Regions from separate parts of the Homo sapiens genome. Here regions 2, 3 and 4 are each linked to region 1. The links are contacts of gene promoters, found by promoter capture Hi-C in human tissues and cell types (Jung and others, 2019). All regions are on one chromosome and are shown on one strand. The core of a region is centred on a gene start or on the middle of the fragment in contact, and the rest is flanking DNA. Distances in the headings are between cores, read along the strand shown.

What was found. The method cuts DNA at HindIII sites, captures the fragments that hold promoters and counts their contacts. A contact is called where the count stands out against the background at its distance.
Region 2: a contact is called between a fragment that was not itself captured here and the fragment with the promoter of UNC5D in region 1, in 1 of the 25 tissues and cell types used here (dorsolateral prefrontal cortex).
Region 3: a contact is called between a fragment that was not itself captured here and the fragment with the promoter of UNC5D in region 1, in 1 of the 25 tissues and cell types used here (dorsolateral prefrontal cortex).
Region 4: a fragment that was not itself captured here is called in contact with the fragment with the promoter of UNC5D in region 1 in 1 of the 25 tissues and cell types used here (dorsolateral prefrontal cortex).

Annotation. Positions count from the first base shown.
Region 1 is chr8:35,233,854-35,237,276 of GRCh38, reverse strand. UNC5D (unc-5 netrin receptor D) reads right to left here and starts at 1,802. Exons shown (of 17, transcript NM_080872.4): 1 at 1,390-1,802. The coding sequence starts at 1,492. The HindIII fragment of the contact is 15,361 bases long and covers 1-3,423 here.
Region 2 is chr8:36,777,569-36,780,991 of GRCh38, reverse strand. No RefSeq gene overlaps it. Among named protein-coding and RNA genes, the nearest start is that of KCNU1, 5.1 kb to the left of the region's middle. The HindIII fragment of the contact is 4,036 bases long and covers 1-3,423 here.
Region 3 is chr8:36,758,559-36,761,981 of GRCh38, reverse strand. No RefSeq gene overlaps it. Among named protein-coding and RNA genes, the nearest start is that of KCNU1, 24 kb to the left of the region's middle. The HindIII fragment of the contact is 3,119 bases long and covers 337-3,423 here.
Region 4 is chr8:33,927,383-33,930,805 of GRCh38, reverse strand. The region is part of intron 2 of LOC105379364 (a long non-coding RNA gene); the gene reads right to left. Among named protein-coding and RNA genes, the nearest start is that of DUSP26, 330 kb to the right of the region's middle. The HindIII fragment of the contact is 5,310 bases long and covers 1-3,423 here.

The DNA.
Region 1 (3,423 bases), core at 553-3,052:
TAACCCAGGGTGTACAATCACCGACGCTCATTTTTAAACCTCCCCTGCTTCTTACAAAGCCCGCTCCATTAAAAAAAAAAAAAAAAAAAAAAAAAAACTTTTCAGGAAATGAAATGCAAATGGGCAAAGAATAGGATCATACAATGGAGAGCCTCTATCAACCTCTTAAAAAGAAAATCTTTCTAGGCAGCCGGACTGCTTTTAACACGCCATAAGCTTTTATAAAAATGAGATAACATTGGTTCTTTTGTGATCGTCCTCAACCCTTTCCACCCTTTCACTCTCCAGGCTGGTCGGAGCATGTTCAGGAGACCGAACAGAGCAGGTGAAGTGGTCAGCTCAGCTCCACCTCTCCCCTGGCAAGTGTAAGGCAAATCATTTAACGGTATCACATATTCTAAGCCTGATGGATGGAACACAGAGAAGGAAAAAGGGAAAGAAGGGCGGGAAGGCAAAGCTTCCGATTTTTTTCAAAGGTAAAGCTCCGGTACTTGAGCTGTGTCTGAAACTGCCTCTGATCATCTTCAAAACAACTCCTTGGGATTTATCTTTAACTTGATGCTGCCTGTCCTCGCTCAAGGTGGAGCTGAAACCAGTTGCGAAATTTCCCTCTGCTGGAGTCCAGAGGATCCAAGAAAATGGGGTCTAGGCTTCTAAGTCGGAAAGAAGCAGAGGTTTCCCTGCGGCTCGGTGGGGCCCGCGCTTCCAAGCCAGAGTAGGCGCCGGGAAGGGAGAGGAGGCGCCTGGTGAGCAGCCTCGGGCCAAGTGCTCATCCCGGCTGGGCACTGCAGGCGCGGTTAAACTGGGATGGTGCACGCCGCTCTCCCGAGCTCCAGGGCTGGCTGGGACCTCGGGCTAAGGACGCCCGAGGGGTGCCAAGCTAGGCGCAGAGCGAAGGGACTTCAGCATGGGTGTTCCTCCCCTAAGGGAAAAGACACCCTCTCTGTTCAAGCCCACCCTACAGACACTCCCATCACCTGGCCCCTCTCCCCAGGAACTCTCCGACATCGCTATGGGCGCTAACTCATGACCAAGCTCGGCTTGAGAGGAAGTGGAGAGGAGAGGGGAGAGCGAGATTGGAGTGAAGACCGGGCTACTCCAGTCTGCAGCAATTGGGGAGGGCTTGGAAAATGGAGCAGGCAAGGAGGGTCCAGGAAAACGGTAGGGGCCCGGGTCACAGCCACCTGTAGGATTGCGGCAGATCGCAAACTTGGGTTGGAAGGCTGTGGTCCCCTCGGAGTCCTCCACTCGGCTCCCATCCGGTTGGGCTTGGAGCGCCGAGGTGCAGGGCGCAAGTTGGGAAGCCAACGCCATCGGTGCAGGTCCCGCTCCGTCAGGCTGGCGCCCCTGCGCCCTCGCCCCCAGCTGCCCGCTCCGCCCAGCGCTTACCTCGGGCAGCCGCGGTCCCTGCCGCCCAGAAGCACAGCCCCAGCCACGGGAGCCAGCGGCGCGCCCCTCCGCCGCCGCCTGCGGTGGCCGCCGCTCTCCCCATGCTCCTCGCCGCGTTCCGGAGGGCGGCTCTTCTTCACGCTCCGGGAGCCCGGGAAAGGGTCGGCGATGAGGGTCCCGAGTCGAATGGGTCTCGGGAGTCTTCAGAGAGTGACTCTGCTCCACGATCGCTTCCTAAAGCAGCGGGGCAGGGAGCTCCGAGCCGCCGCTGAATGGGCACCCCGAGAAAGGGCGCGTCCCCATAGCTTCCCACGGCGCGGCGACCGCTGCCGCCAGCGCGGATGCCGGAGTCGCCCGCAGTCCCCGCCGCGCAGTTCCCAGCCCTCGCGCCGCTGCCGGGCCCCGAACTACGGAGCGGAGGCGAGAGTCCGCATCGCTAATGAGACCCCCGCAGCCGCCCCTTCCCCTCCCCTCCGAGCGGCAGCCAATGAGCCGGGCTGGGGCGGGGCCGCGGGAGGGGCGGTGACGCGGCGGCGCTGGGCTGGGGCCCGGGAGGCGCAGGTGAGCCAGAGGCCGCTCCACGTGCCCCCGGGGCGCTTCGGGCCCCGCCTGCAGCTCCCCCCCCCGCTCGCGGAGAGAGGAAGCGGGCTGGGAGTCGGGCGGCGGGGATGCGGCCACGCCGCGGGGAGCTGAGCGGAGCCGGCTGGCCTCTTGGGGCGAACGCCGCACAGATATGTGGGCATCTCGGTTGCCTAACTCAGTCACCTGCTTCCAGGAGACCTCCGTTTTGTTCATCTACTTTGAGCCCTTCTAAAGTCCTGCCTCTCCTACTTCCACTTTTTCCCATTAGATCAGACATCACTCAGGAAAACATCCTGAGAAAAAGAAAGACTTAAAATAAATGCGTAGTGGGAAAAAATAATAATGGAGTTACTCCATTGCTGCAACTATGCTAACTTCATTCATATAAATAAAGAAGTGGGGAATAACAATCATGGGTGCATTAAGGCTTGTATAATCGATTTTTATTTTTGCTTTCTTTTTTTTTCGAATTCCCTATTCTGTTGTCCTGAACACTCCGGAATCCCCAAACTTTTCAGAAGCTCCCTCATTTCGAATGGCTCCTATTTTTGTCAGTTTTAATCTGAGCCCAAGGAATTGCCTTCTGGTAAGTATCAGGGAAAGGAGTGTCGACTTAAAAAGGAAGAAGGTGAGGCGAAATTAATATAAGTAAGAGTTTATTTGGGCCAAGTGTGAGGATTGCAACTCAGGAGTATAGATTTAAGTTGTTTTGAATATATATTTTGATTAGTAGTAGTTATAAGTGGATTCTTAAAGGCAAAAAAAAGGGGGATGGGGAGTGGACTGATGTAACATTGTTAGGAATTTATACTGATTTATTGAAATAATGTCGATTAGTGATTAGTTATATATAGTTAAGTCATAGGATGTGGGTTATACTGTTTGATGTGGTATTATTAGGTTAATTTATAGCTATTTGTAGTAATAGTATGTAGTTTTAAGAAATGAATATATAGTTTAAAGGAAGGAGTAGGGCATGATTGTGGTCTCATTCTAATGTCTCTCTGGGCCTGACAATTAAAAGGACTTTGAAACGCGCTGGACTTTTATAAGAAGAAGGAAAGAAGACTCTTTTTTTTTTTTTTTTTAAGTGTGGCTTGTTTTAGATAGATTATCAAATTTTTATTTAACTGCTTTCGAAAATACCTCACGGTTGCCTCTTCCCTCTGCTGGAGGAGTAACTTTAGAGAGCTTGTCCTAGGTCACTCAATTTCAGAGCACACCCAGGAAGTTGGTGGGGAGTCCCAGGCTCCCCAATTGGACTACCTCATTATCGCTGCCAGGATCGAGTCCTCAAAATGGCAGCAGAGCTCACCTTTTGCCTGGTAATCCCCCATAGAAAAGGGAGCCTTGGTTTGAAAGGCAACCTTCCCAGCAGTTCCTCACTACCCACGCTCAACATCAAGTACTTTTCAAAAATCCATGTCTCCCGCCAATGTGCTACCTGCTCCC
Region 2 (3,423 bases), core at 424-2,923, 1.5 Mb before region 1:
AAATATTTGGCGATTGAATGAATACATTGCTGATCCTCAAAAATATTTGTTAGGTGAATGAAATACTGAATCTGCATGAACCTTAACCTAAGTTATCCAGATTTCTCTGCTCCATATTCTCCATCTTTGACGGCAAACTGTTCTTGTGATGAAAGCATCATCCATAGTGTGTAATGCATGGTTCATAGTGTGTGTGCATGTGTGTAAGTGTGTGTGTGTGTGTGTGTGTGTGTGTGTGTGTAGTGAAAAGGGCACCTGATTTGGATCAAGTGTCAAAGTGTCACCATCTTTGCAAATTTAAATTTGGTAATTATGGCCAGATGCGGTGGCTCACGTCTGTAATCCCAGCACTTTGGGAGGCCGAGGCAGGCAGATCACCTGAGGTCAGGAGTTTGAGACCAGCCTGGCCAACATGGTGAAACCCCCCTCCCTAATAAAAATACAAAAAAATTAGCCAGGTGGGGTGGTGGGTGCCTGTAATCCCAGCTACTCGGGAGGCTGAGGCAGGAGAAGCGCTTGAACCCGGGAGGTGGAGGTTGCAGTGAGCCGAGATCATGCCGCTGCACTCCAGCCTGGGTGACAGAGTGAGACTCCGTCTTAAAAAAAAAATGGTAATTATTCTCGGTTAGTGAGTTATTTGGTGATGGGTGGACATGTGACTAGGCAAAGCCCTTCGTAGCTTGGTAGCAGTTCAGTGTTCAGAACTTGGAAGGTAGGGAACTTTGAAGCAATGATACCCTTCACAGTAATTAAGATAGTACTCTCCTTGTACTTGATGGTTTGATAAGGATAAAAAACAGTAACTATTTTTTTGACTACCAGCTGCAAGCTAGAATCTTCGTCGTGTGTGTGTGTGTGTGTATGTATGTGTTTAACAATTACCTTATACCAAGGACTGGGAGCACCAGGGACACCAAAACAAATCTAGTTCATTCCCTCATAGAAGAGAGTCAACTGAGGAAGACATTTACAATAACAAACTGCAAAAAGTGTTTAGAAAATAAACTAATCTGGTGAGGATCGAGGGGGTCAGGAAAGCTACCTCAAATACGTCATGTTTGAAGCTGAGGTCTGTAGAATGAGAAGCTTCCCAGGCCAGGACAACAGAAGGGGTTAAGGAGGCTGGGGTAGAACATGATCAGGCTGAGAAGATATGTGGAAAGGAGAATGCACTTTCTTTCTTTCTTTTTTTTTTTTTTTGAGACAGAGTCTCGCTCTGTTGCCCAGGGTGGAGTGCAGTTGCGCGATCTCGGCTCACTGCAAACTCCGCCTCCCCGGTTCACGCCATTCTCCTGCCTCAGCCTCCCGAGTAGTTGGGACTACAGGCGCCCGCCACCACTCCTGTATTTTTAGTAGAGATGGGGTTTCACCGTGTTAGCCAGGATGTTCTCGATCACCTGACCTCGTGATCCGCCCGCCTCGGCCTCCCAAAGTGCTGAAGTGCATTAATCATCGGCCAGATGGAACACAGTGACCCAAAAGAAGGCTGGGCGTGTATAAAGGTGTTGCAGGACTTTTCCTTAGTTCGGCTAAAGACGGGGTCCTTGTCCGTCCCATGGCCGTGAAAATTTAGGCTCATAGACGGTTTGAATGGTGAGTAGGAGAGAGTAGTATTGATTGAAGAGGAAGAAAAGAGGCTCGAATCAGGGACTCTCGCAAGGCGAGCCCCTGCTAGAGCGCTTCCCGCCTGCAGCTTGAATCCCGGGTTCCACACAGGAAGAGGAGGGACCAGGCTCCTCCCTGCTCCAAAGGGCACGAACTTCTGTGTCTCCACCCCAGTGCGCATTTCTCCTAGTGCGCAGGCTCGTTGGAGGTTTTCCGGGGACCCTTTCCAACCTGGCTGTCTCAAAGGGAACCAGATTATGCAAGGCTTTGTGTTCCAGCTTAGGCTAAACCAAGAACAACTTTATCCTAAGGTCAAGAGGAAATATTTGATAGGTTCTAAAGAAGGGAGGTAAGTCATTGCATTTCGATTGTAAAAGCATCACACTGGTTTTCATGCAGAGACTGCTGGTCTCGATAGTGACAGGACGCTAGTCCTGATGGGATGGGGCTGGTGGGAAGAGACACAAGTGGGCAGGTGTGAGTGATGTCTGGGGAAAAATCAGCATTTGGGACATGAGGGCCAGGAAGCCTCAAAGGTGATCCTGGGTCTCTGAGTGATACCTCTGGGTAGTTCTGGGGGCTTTTCACTGCCATGCCTTTAATAGTAAATCTAAGAAGTGAAGACTGTGCTACGGAATCTTTTCTTTTTTTTTCCTTTTTTTTTAAGTTCAGATGAATTTTTTAACATGTCAGTGATTTGATTAGAAAAATTGCTTCACTTTGTACACATTTCTGTAATTTACCTCTGGGCACTCAAATATTCTGCAAAATTATACTTTATAATGGGATTGAATAAATGTTTAATTTTAAAAATTTATTCTCTTCAAGCAACATGCCATATCTGAGAAAGGAAAGTAAGAATTACATTTTTAAGTGTAGATAGCAGCACTCAGGAATGAGTGTGTGTGTGTGTGTGTGTGTGTGTGTGTGTATTTGCAATGCTTCTGGAAGTAATAAGTTATATTGTAATGTTGCCTTTTTAAGTGCCTAAATCCATCCATTGCACTTAATGCTATAACCCCACATTTCTCTATTTCTATAAGCAGAGCTTTTTTTTATATCCTCAGAGCACATTCATACCATTGGGAAATTGCACTGTTGAGAAATGCTAAGCCTCAGTCCTCAATTCATGCAGCCAGTCAATGGCAGAAGCAGGTCTGAAGTTGGGGATGGAAACGGCTGTAATGCCACAGAGCACTAGAGTCATGGTGAAAGCCCATTACAGCCAGCTGCTTCCAGGGAAATCTCTCCTTGCTGAGTTCTTATATCTCTCACTAAGGAAATTGACTTAAAGATTACAGCTTCACTTTCTCAAGGTGTGTACATGGAGTTATTTAAGTCACCAAGTCTTTACTTAGACCTCCTTAAGGATTCATTTTTGGTTTAACTCCTCTTTTTACATTTCACCAGTAGGGTACATAACATATTAATTACTTTCCGAGAAGCTTCTTTTTGAGGGAACCTTCCTTTTTTCTACAGAGTCTCGCTCTGTCAGGCAGGCTGGAGTGTAGTGGTGCGATCTCAGTTCACTAACCTCCCAGGTTCAAGTGATTCTCCTGCCTCAGCCTCCTGAGTAGCTGGGATTATAGGCACACACCACCACGCCCAGCTAATGAGGGAACATAATTCAATCCGTATTTTGTTTAGACCCATGACTTATTGAGACTTACCCTTTGAAAAAGGCACTGTGTTTTCTCTGCAGTCTGTTGTTCCCTGTTTATTCTAAATGGACAAACCGCAGGAAGATGTTTCACTGTGATATAAATGTTAACCCAATAGCAGGATGTCTGTGATGCTCTGTTGTGCATATGGATCTGC
Region 3 (3,423 bases), core at 647-3,146, 1.5 Mb before region 1:
ACACTCCTCCATTTCCTGCTTTCTGTCCAGTCCATCTGTCAGATCTGTGGACACATTTAAATACTGATTATGCTGAGGGTTGCTGTTCTCTCTTTCTCACTGGCTCCCAGATATTTCCAAGTGATGGGCTCTGTGCAGCATCCCTGCACTGTCCCTGAGCATTCTGTGGTGGTAGGGCCTTTGGGAGTTTGATGGCAGGTTGAGGCTGGTCCTGAGGATTGTTTGACTTGATTCCTTAAGAGGACTCACAGACTCTGTCTAACCCCAACACAAATACTGCTACATTCCCAAGTTCGGTTCTGGTGTTTTGCAACATACTAAAGTTATTTTTATTTTTTATTTAACTTTATTTATTTATTTATTTATTTTGAGATGGAGTCTCGCTCTGTCTCCCAGGCTGGAGTGCAGTGGCACAATCTTGGCTCACTGCAACCTCTGCCTCCCGAGTTCAAGTGATTCTCCTGCCTCAGCCTCCCAAGTAGCTGGGATTACAGACACGTACCACCACGCCTGGCTAATTTTTGTATTTTTAGTAGAGACAGGGTTTCACCTTGTTGGCCAGGTTGGTCTCGAACTCCCGACTTCAGGTGATCCGCCTGCCTTGGCCTCCCAAAGTGTTCATATTTTTATATAATCAAATTTAAGTTTTTTTTTCCACTCATGATTTACTCCATTGTCATTGTACCTTGAAAGTGCCCTAATAGGTTGAACTCTAACGTCCATATAAAAGAGACTTCCTCTGAAAAGCTTAAAAGGGGAAAAGATCACACCTGTAATCCCAGCACTTTGGGAGGCCCAGGCGGGCAGATCACGAGGTCAGGAGATCGAGACCATCCTGGCTAACACGGTGAAACCCCGTCTCCACTAAAAGTATATTAAAAAAAATTAGCTGGCGTGGTGGCAGGCGCCTGTAGTCCCAGCTACTTGGGAGGCTGAGGCAGGAGAATAGCATGAACCTGGGAGGCAGAGATTGCAGGGAGCCAAGATCTTGCCACTGCACTCCAGCCTGGGCAACAGAGCAAGACTCCGTCTGAAAAAAAAAAAAAAAAAAAGGAGGGGTGGGAAGAAACTTGTCCTACTAGTTATTACCAAGTTTATCAAGTCACAGTAATGAAAACAATTTGGCTTTGCCAGAACAGTCAGACAAATGCATCCAAGTGACTGAGTAGAAAATCCCTTTATCGCTATGTAATATATCATAAAACATTGCATGTTAGCAGGAACAAAGCTTACTATTCTATCAATAGCAGTAGGAAAATTGGCTATTTGGGTGAAACATCAAGGTAGAACTTCATGTAACTGTGACTTAATTTCAGGTAGGTAATTTTTCTTAAAATGTCAGACACTATTCTAGGTACTGAGGTTATATCTGTGAAATAGAAAGATGAAGACCTTGCTTATTCTAATGAGGATAAACATACACTAAACCAATGAATAAAATAATTAAAAAAACTTCAGAATATACATGCTCTGAAGGAAATGAACAGGATGATGGGCTAGAGACGAAATGGGGTGGAGGTAAAGTGACTTCAGATGGGGTGGCATGGAAGGCTCCTTTAAGAAGGTGGAATCTGAGCAGAGACCACAAGAATTGTGTATTAGTCTGTTCTCATGCTGCTAATGAAGACTTACCCGAGACTGGGTAATTTAGAAGAGAAAGAGATTTAATGAACTCACAGTTCCACAGGGCTGGGAAGGCCTCAGAGTCATGGCAGAAGGCGAAGGAGCAGCAAAGTCACATCTTACCTGGCAGCAGGCAGGAGAAGAATGAGAGCCAAGCAAAAAGGGAAACCTCTTATAAAACCATCAGATCTCATGAGACATATTCACTACCACGAGGTTTATTCACTACCATAGGGGAGAAACTGCCTCCATGATTCAATTATCTCCTACTAGGTCACTGCTACAATCTGTGGGGATTATGGGAGCTACAATTCAAGATGAGAGTTGGGTGGAAAACAGCCAAACCATATCAAATTGAAACTGTGCCCAAAATAGTTAAAGAAACTAATGACTAAGACATATTCATGAGTTTGTAGGATGGGAGATTAAATAACAACAAAAGACTTGCTGAAATGCTGGAGCTCCCCCAACTTACGAGATTTAAAAGACTGCCAAAAATTGATTAAAATTGATTGGAACCAATATGACCAACTGAAGTCTATAAAGAATGGGCTTGCTGACGTCACAGCCCAAATTTCGACCACATGTTTCATACTAATGCCTGTCAAATGTGCACATGCGACTGACTCATGAGAAGGCAGTGAAGAGACACCTGTGCATGCCTGAGAACTTTTTAGTCCTCCTCTTTCCGCCTACCAATTACCCACTAATCTCACAATTCACCCCCTAAAGCTTTTCTAATAAAATGACTGCCTTGGAGCCAGTACATGGAGACAGATTTGAGCTAGACTCTAGTCTCCTTGTTAGTTAACTTGCAATAAAAAATGCTTTTCTTTTCTCAAAAACCCAGGGATAAAATATTGGCTTCCTGTGCATTTAGGAGCAAGCCATTTTACTTGGTAACCTCTTCAGTTAAGAGATGGGAAAGAATGAGATGTCTGCAGATGATAGCAAGGAGGGAGCAGCATCTCTGGTATATTCTGGCGGCTTGAATATCGGAGGAGGTGGGACATTGCAGGAGGAAGGAGAAAGGATATGGAAGAGGCAAGAGGGAGCACGGAGAACACTCATACTGCCTCATGGCTCTGCAGTGTGGGGAAATGAGAGAGGGATATAAAAGGCCTTCAACTGGGGGAGTTTTGGAGAAATGGAGTCCATTGGGGAAAGTCAGCTTTCAGTAAAGGCACAATCAGCAAATGTTGAAGAAGGACTAGCTGTTTCCAGGTGAGGCTACCTAAAGTGCACAGTGTAGGCTTTGCATGGGCAGGAAGGGGAAGGCAATGTACCAGACTATGAGGGGTCCCAAGCAGGAAGGGGACAAGAGTGCAGGTGGTACGTAAGGTCAGCAGGGTTGCAAGACATTGTGGGGTTACCTCTGATGGTTCCTAGAGGAAGGGGAACAATTAGTTCAAAGTACAGTAGCAAGAAGTTAAATGATATGGAGTGATTACTTCCTCTGCAATTCCAGATGATGTTTGTGTAACAACCTTGACTGAGAATAAGACTGAGGGAGGGGAAAGTAGGATGGAAGATTCTCACTGGGAGTGAGAGGTAAGGTGTTGGTCTTTGGGTGACTACTTTCTCAATTGTTTTCTCTTATAATGGTCAGTCGAGAATAAGGAATTATTTCATAAGACAGTTACAGACATTGATACCACAAGCCCCAGAGGGGACTGTCTCAAAAAAGAAAAGGAAGCTTTTTATGCCAAGATGTCATTGTTATTTTAAAGTTGTGAAGGATATATTTGTATGCCAGTCTATGGGCTATGATCATTTGGCAAAAATTTTTAAGCCCTAAGA
Region 4 (3,423 bases), core at 392-2,891, 1.3 Mb after region 1:
GTGGACAAAATAGAAAGAAGCAAACCCTTTGGGCATTTAAAGTAAAACTGTACAATTAAAGGATCATCTACTACTGTAACAGCTAAGAAGGAGAGGCTCATGGTGCTCTGATAACTCATACTGGTTAATGTGACCTAATTAGCAGGATAGGAAGGGTGTTCTTGAGGAAGCTGTAGGCCAAAGAGAGAACAGCTTTCACCTGGATGAAGAGGGAAGAAGGGAGTTTTTGAGGAGGAGAGCATACAAAGACCTCGTGATGGAAGGGAGACAGTGAGTGCAGAGCCTGGGTAAACCATCCCCTAGTGACCACTGCCCATGGCATGAGGCCAGCCAAAGAACAAAGAAAGAGACCTAGAAGGAGTGTTTGGGTGATTTTCCAGCCCTGGCTTGGAGGCAACATTACATCATCATGGCCTGAGTGCAACTGAACAGAACCCAGTCACTGGGTCTCATCTGACTGCAAAGTAGACTGCAAAATGTACTCCAACTCTCACTGGAAACAAGAAGACTAAGGATCTGACAGGAGATAACTTACTCACTTGGATTTATTCCCTTTGGGATGGTGAAGGAGAGGGACTAGACAGTCACTAGAGAGGGATGACAGTTTAGTTGAATAACAAGGACCTCAAAGGAGTGAGATTTGTATAACAGGGTATATAAGGAGCGGTTTGAGAGTGTTAACATGAAAAGAGGAGGGTATCCTTGAAAAGTAAACTCTTACAAACACAAACTCATCTCAGAAGTTTTGAGACTGCCTATTGTCTGTGTGGAGGTAATATCATAAACCTAAAGCCTGGGTTCTCACGTGTAACATTCCTGGGTCCAAATCCCTACTTTGCCTCTTACTAATTTATTAACTATGTCACATTGGATGAGTAATTTAACCTTTATGTGACTCAGTTTTCTCATCAATAAAGTGGGATTAATTACCATTCTGCCTCTTAAAGTTGTTGGTAGACTTCAATGAGATTGGGAGTAAGTGTAATGACAGCGCCTAGCATATAGTAGATGCCTGGTAAATGTTTGCTATTATTAACTACATTACTACTGAAGATTGCTTTATATTTTGATAATAATAGACATAAATTTGTCTTACTCTAAGTAGAAATTTCTACTAATGAGAAAATCCCATTCCAAGAGTATTTTAGGTAACTGGAGTTTTTGTGTATACTTTGTGACTCAAAGTAACCCTTTTCTGATGTACCCTCCTTCAGAGAAAATAATAGTATGCTACGACAAAATGCCGTCCCTAGGATACTCTGAGAATAAGGAGGAGCTAGTCACAGAGGAGGCAAAATGGAAATGAGCCGAGAGCAGTGCAAAGCCCAGGCAATTTTATTTATACAAGAGAGACATTTACTGCTCCTGTGAAAGCATTTCCAAGTGCTGGGGCAAAATTCCATTCTCATTCCTGAGAAGCACCAATATCCTTGGGAGAATTAGTTTCTAGGAATCAGCTGGGATACAGCTTCAAAAGCCCAGGGCAACAATGTCAGAGTCAGGTTAGAGTCCTTAGCCAGGGTGTATTAGTCTGTTCTCACACTGCTAATGAAGACAGACCTGAGACTGGGTATCTTAAAAAGCAAAGAGGTTTGACTCACAGTTCAGTATGGCTGGGGAGGCCTCACCAAACTTACATTCATGGCAGAAAGGGAAGCAAACAACCTTCTTTACATGGTGGCATCAAGGGGAAGTGCCCAGCAAAAGGGGGCAAATCCCCTTATAAAACTATCAAATCTCATGAGAATTCACTTACTATCACAAGAACAGCACAGAAGTACTTGCCCCCATGATTCAATTACCTCCCACTGGTTCCCTCCTATGACATGTGGGGATTATGGGAACTACAGTTCAAGATGAGATTTGGGTGGGGACACAGCCAAACCATATCACAGCGAGAGCAACTTGAATGAAAAGGAAGTTGACCAGGAAAGTGCTGCAATGGGAACGGACCATCAGGAGGCCTGGAGCAACGGCCTAACTCACTTGGGAGAAGGAAGCTGGAAATGAAGAGTGGTGAGCAAGACCACCCTGGGAATTCCAAAAGGTAATGCCACCACACAAGAGTGCCTATTATCCCCCAAGACAACCTTTGAATTTTTAGGTGAAGCTCTGTGTGTCCAGCAACAGCTTGCTATGGTCTGAATGTTTGTGTCCTCCCAAAAATCACATGTTGAAACCTAATCCCCACTGTGAAAGCATTGGGAGGTGAGGACTTAGGGAGGTGATTAGGTCATGAGGGCCTGCCCTCATGAATGGGTCTAGTGCCCTTATAAAAGAGACCCCAGAGTATTGCCTTGCCCCTTCCACCATGTGAGAATGCAGTGAACAGATGTCTACCAACTAAGAAGCAGGCCCTCACCAGAAACTGAATCTGCTGGCTCCATGAATCTTGGACTTCTCAGTCTCCAGAACCATGAGAAACACATTTCCATTGCTTATAAGCCACACAGTTTATGGTATTTTATTATAGCAGACCAAACAGACTAAGACACAGCTAAATGGTAACCAGGGATAATCGCCATAGGTAGGTGAACTTTCATGTGCAGGTTTGTTACATAGGTATTCATGTGCTATGGTGGTTTGCTGCACCTATCAACCCGCCCTCTAGATTTTAAGCCCCGCATGTATTAGGTATTTATCCTAATGCTTTCCCTCACCTTTCCCCCCACCCCCTAGCAGGGCCCAGTGTGTGATGTTCCCCTCCTGTGTCCATGTCTTCTCATTGTCCAACTCCCACTTATGAAGTGAGAACATGCAGTGTTTGGTTTTCTGTTCCTGTGTTAGTTTTCTGAGGATGATGGTTTCCAGCTTCATCCATATCCCTGCAAAGAACATGAACTCATTCCTTTCTATGGCTGCATAGTATTCCATGGAGTATATGTGCCACATTTTCTTTATCCAGTCTATCATTGATGGGCATTTGGGTTGGTTCCAAGTCTTTGCTATTATAAATAGTGCTGCAATAAACATACGTGTGCATGTGGAAAAGAAACTTTTTTTAAAAGGGAAACACATCAGAACATCGGCACCTAAAGGAATTTTTTTCTCTTCAAAGTGGTGATTATGAATGTATTTATTCTAGAAACGTTGTCATTGCTTAAAAATTTTTTGCTTTAAAATTGGGTTGAGAGCAGTAGGCCCATTTCTTCAAAATTTCTTAAAGGTTGAAAGCTTCCTATAGTGGCAATTGGTGCTTGGAAGCAATCACAGGGCATGATGATGAATAACTTTTGTCCAAGGTGAGTAGTCAGAAGCAAGATGCACTATAATTGAAAAAGATTAATTTTTTTGGAGTTCATGAAATGATGACAAATGATAAGGAGAAAAGTTGTGTCTTAATAAGTTTAAACACATTAGACATGGAAGTATTCGGGAGGAAAATAAGGCCTCCTGGGCCCCCCTGAAACATACCATAATAAT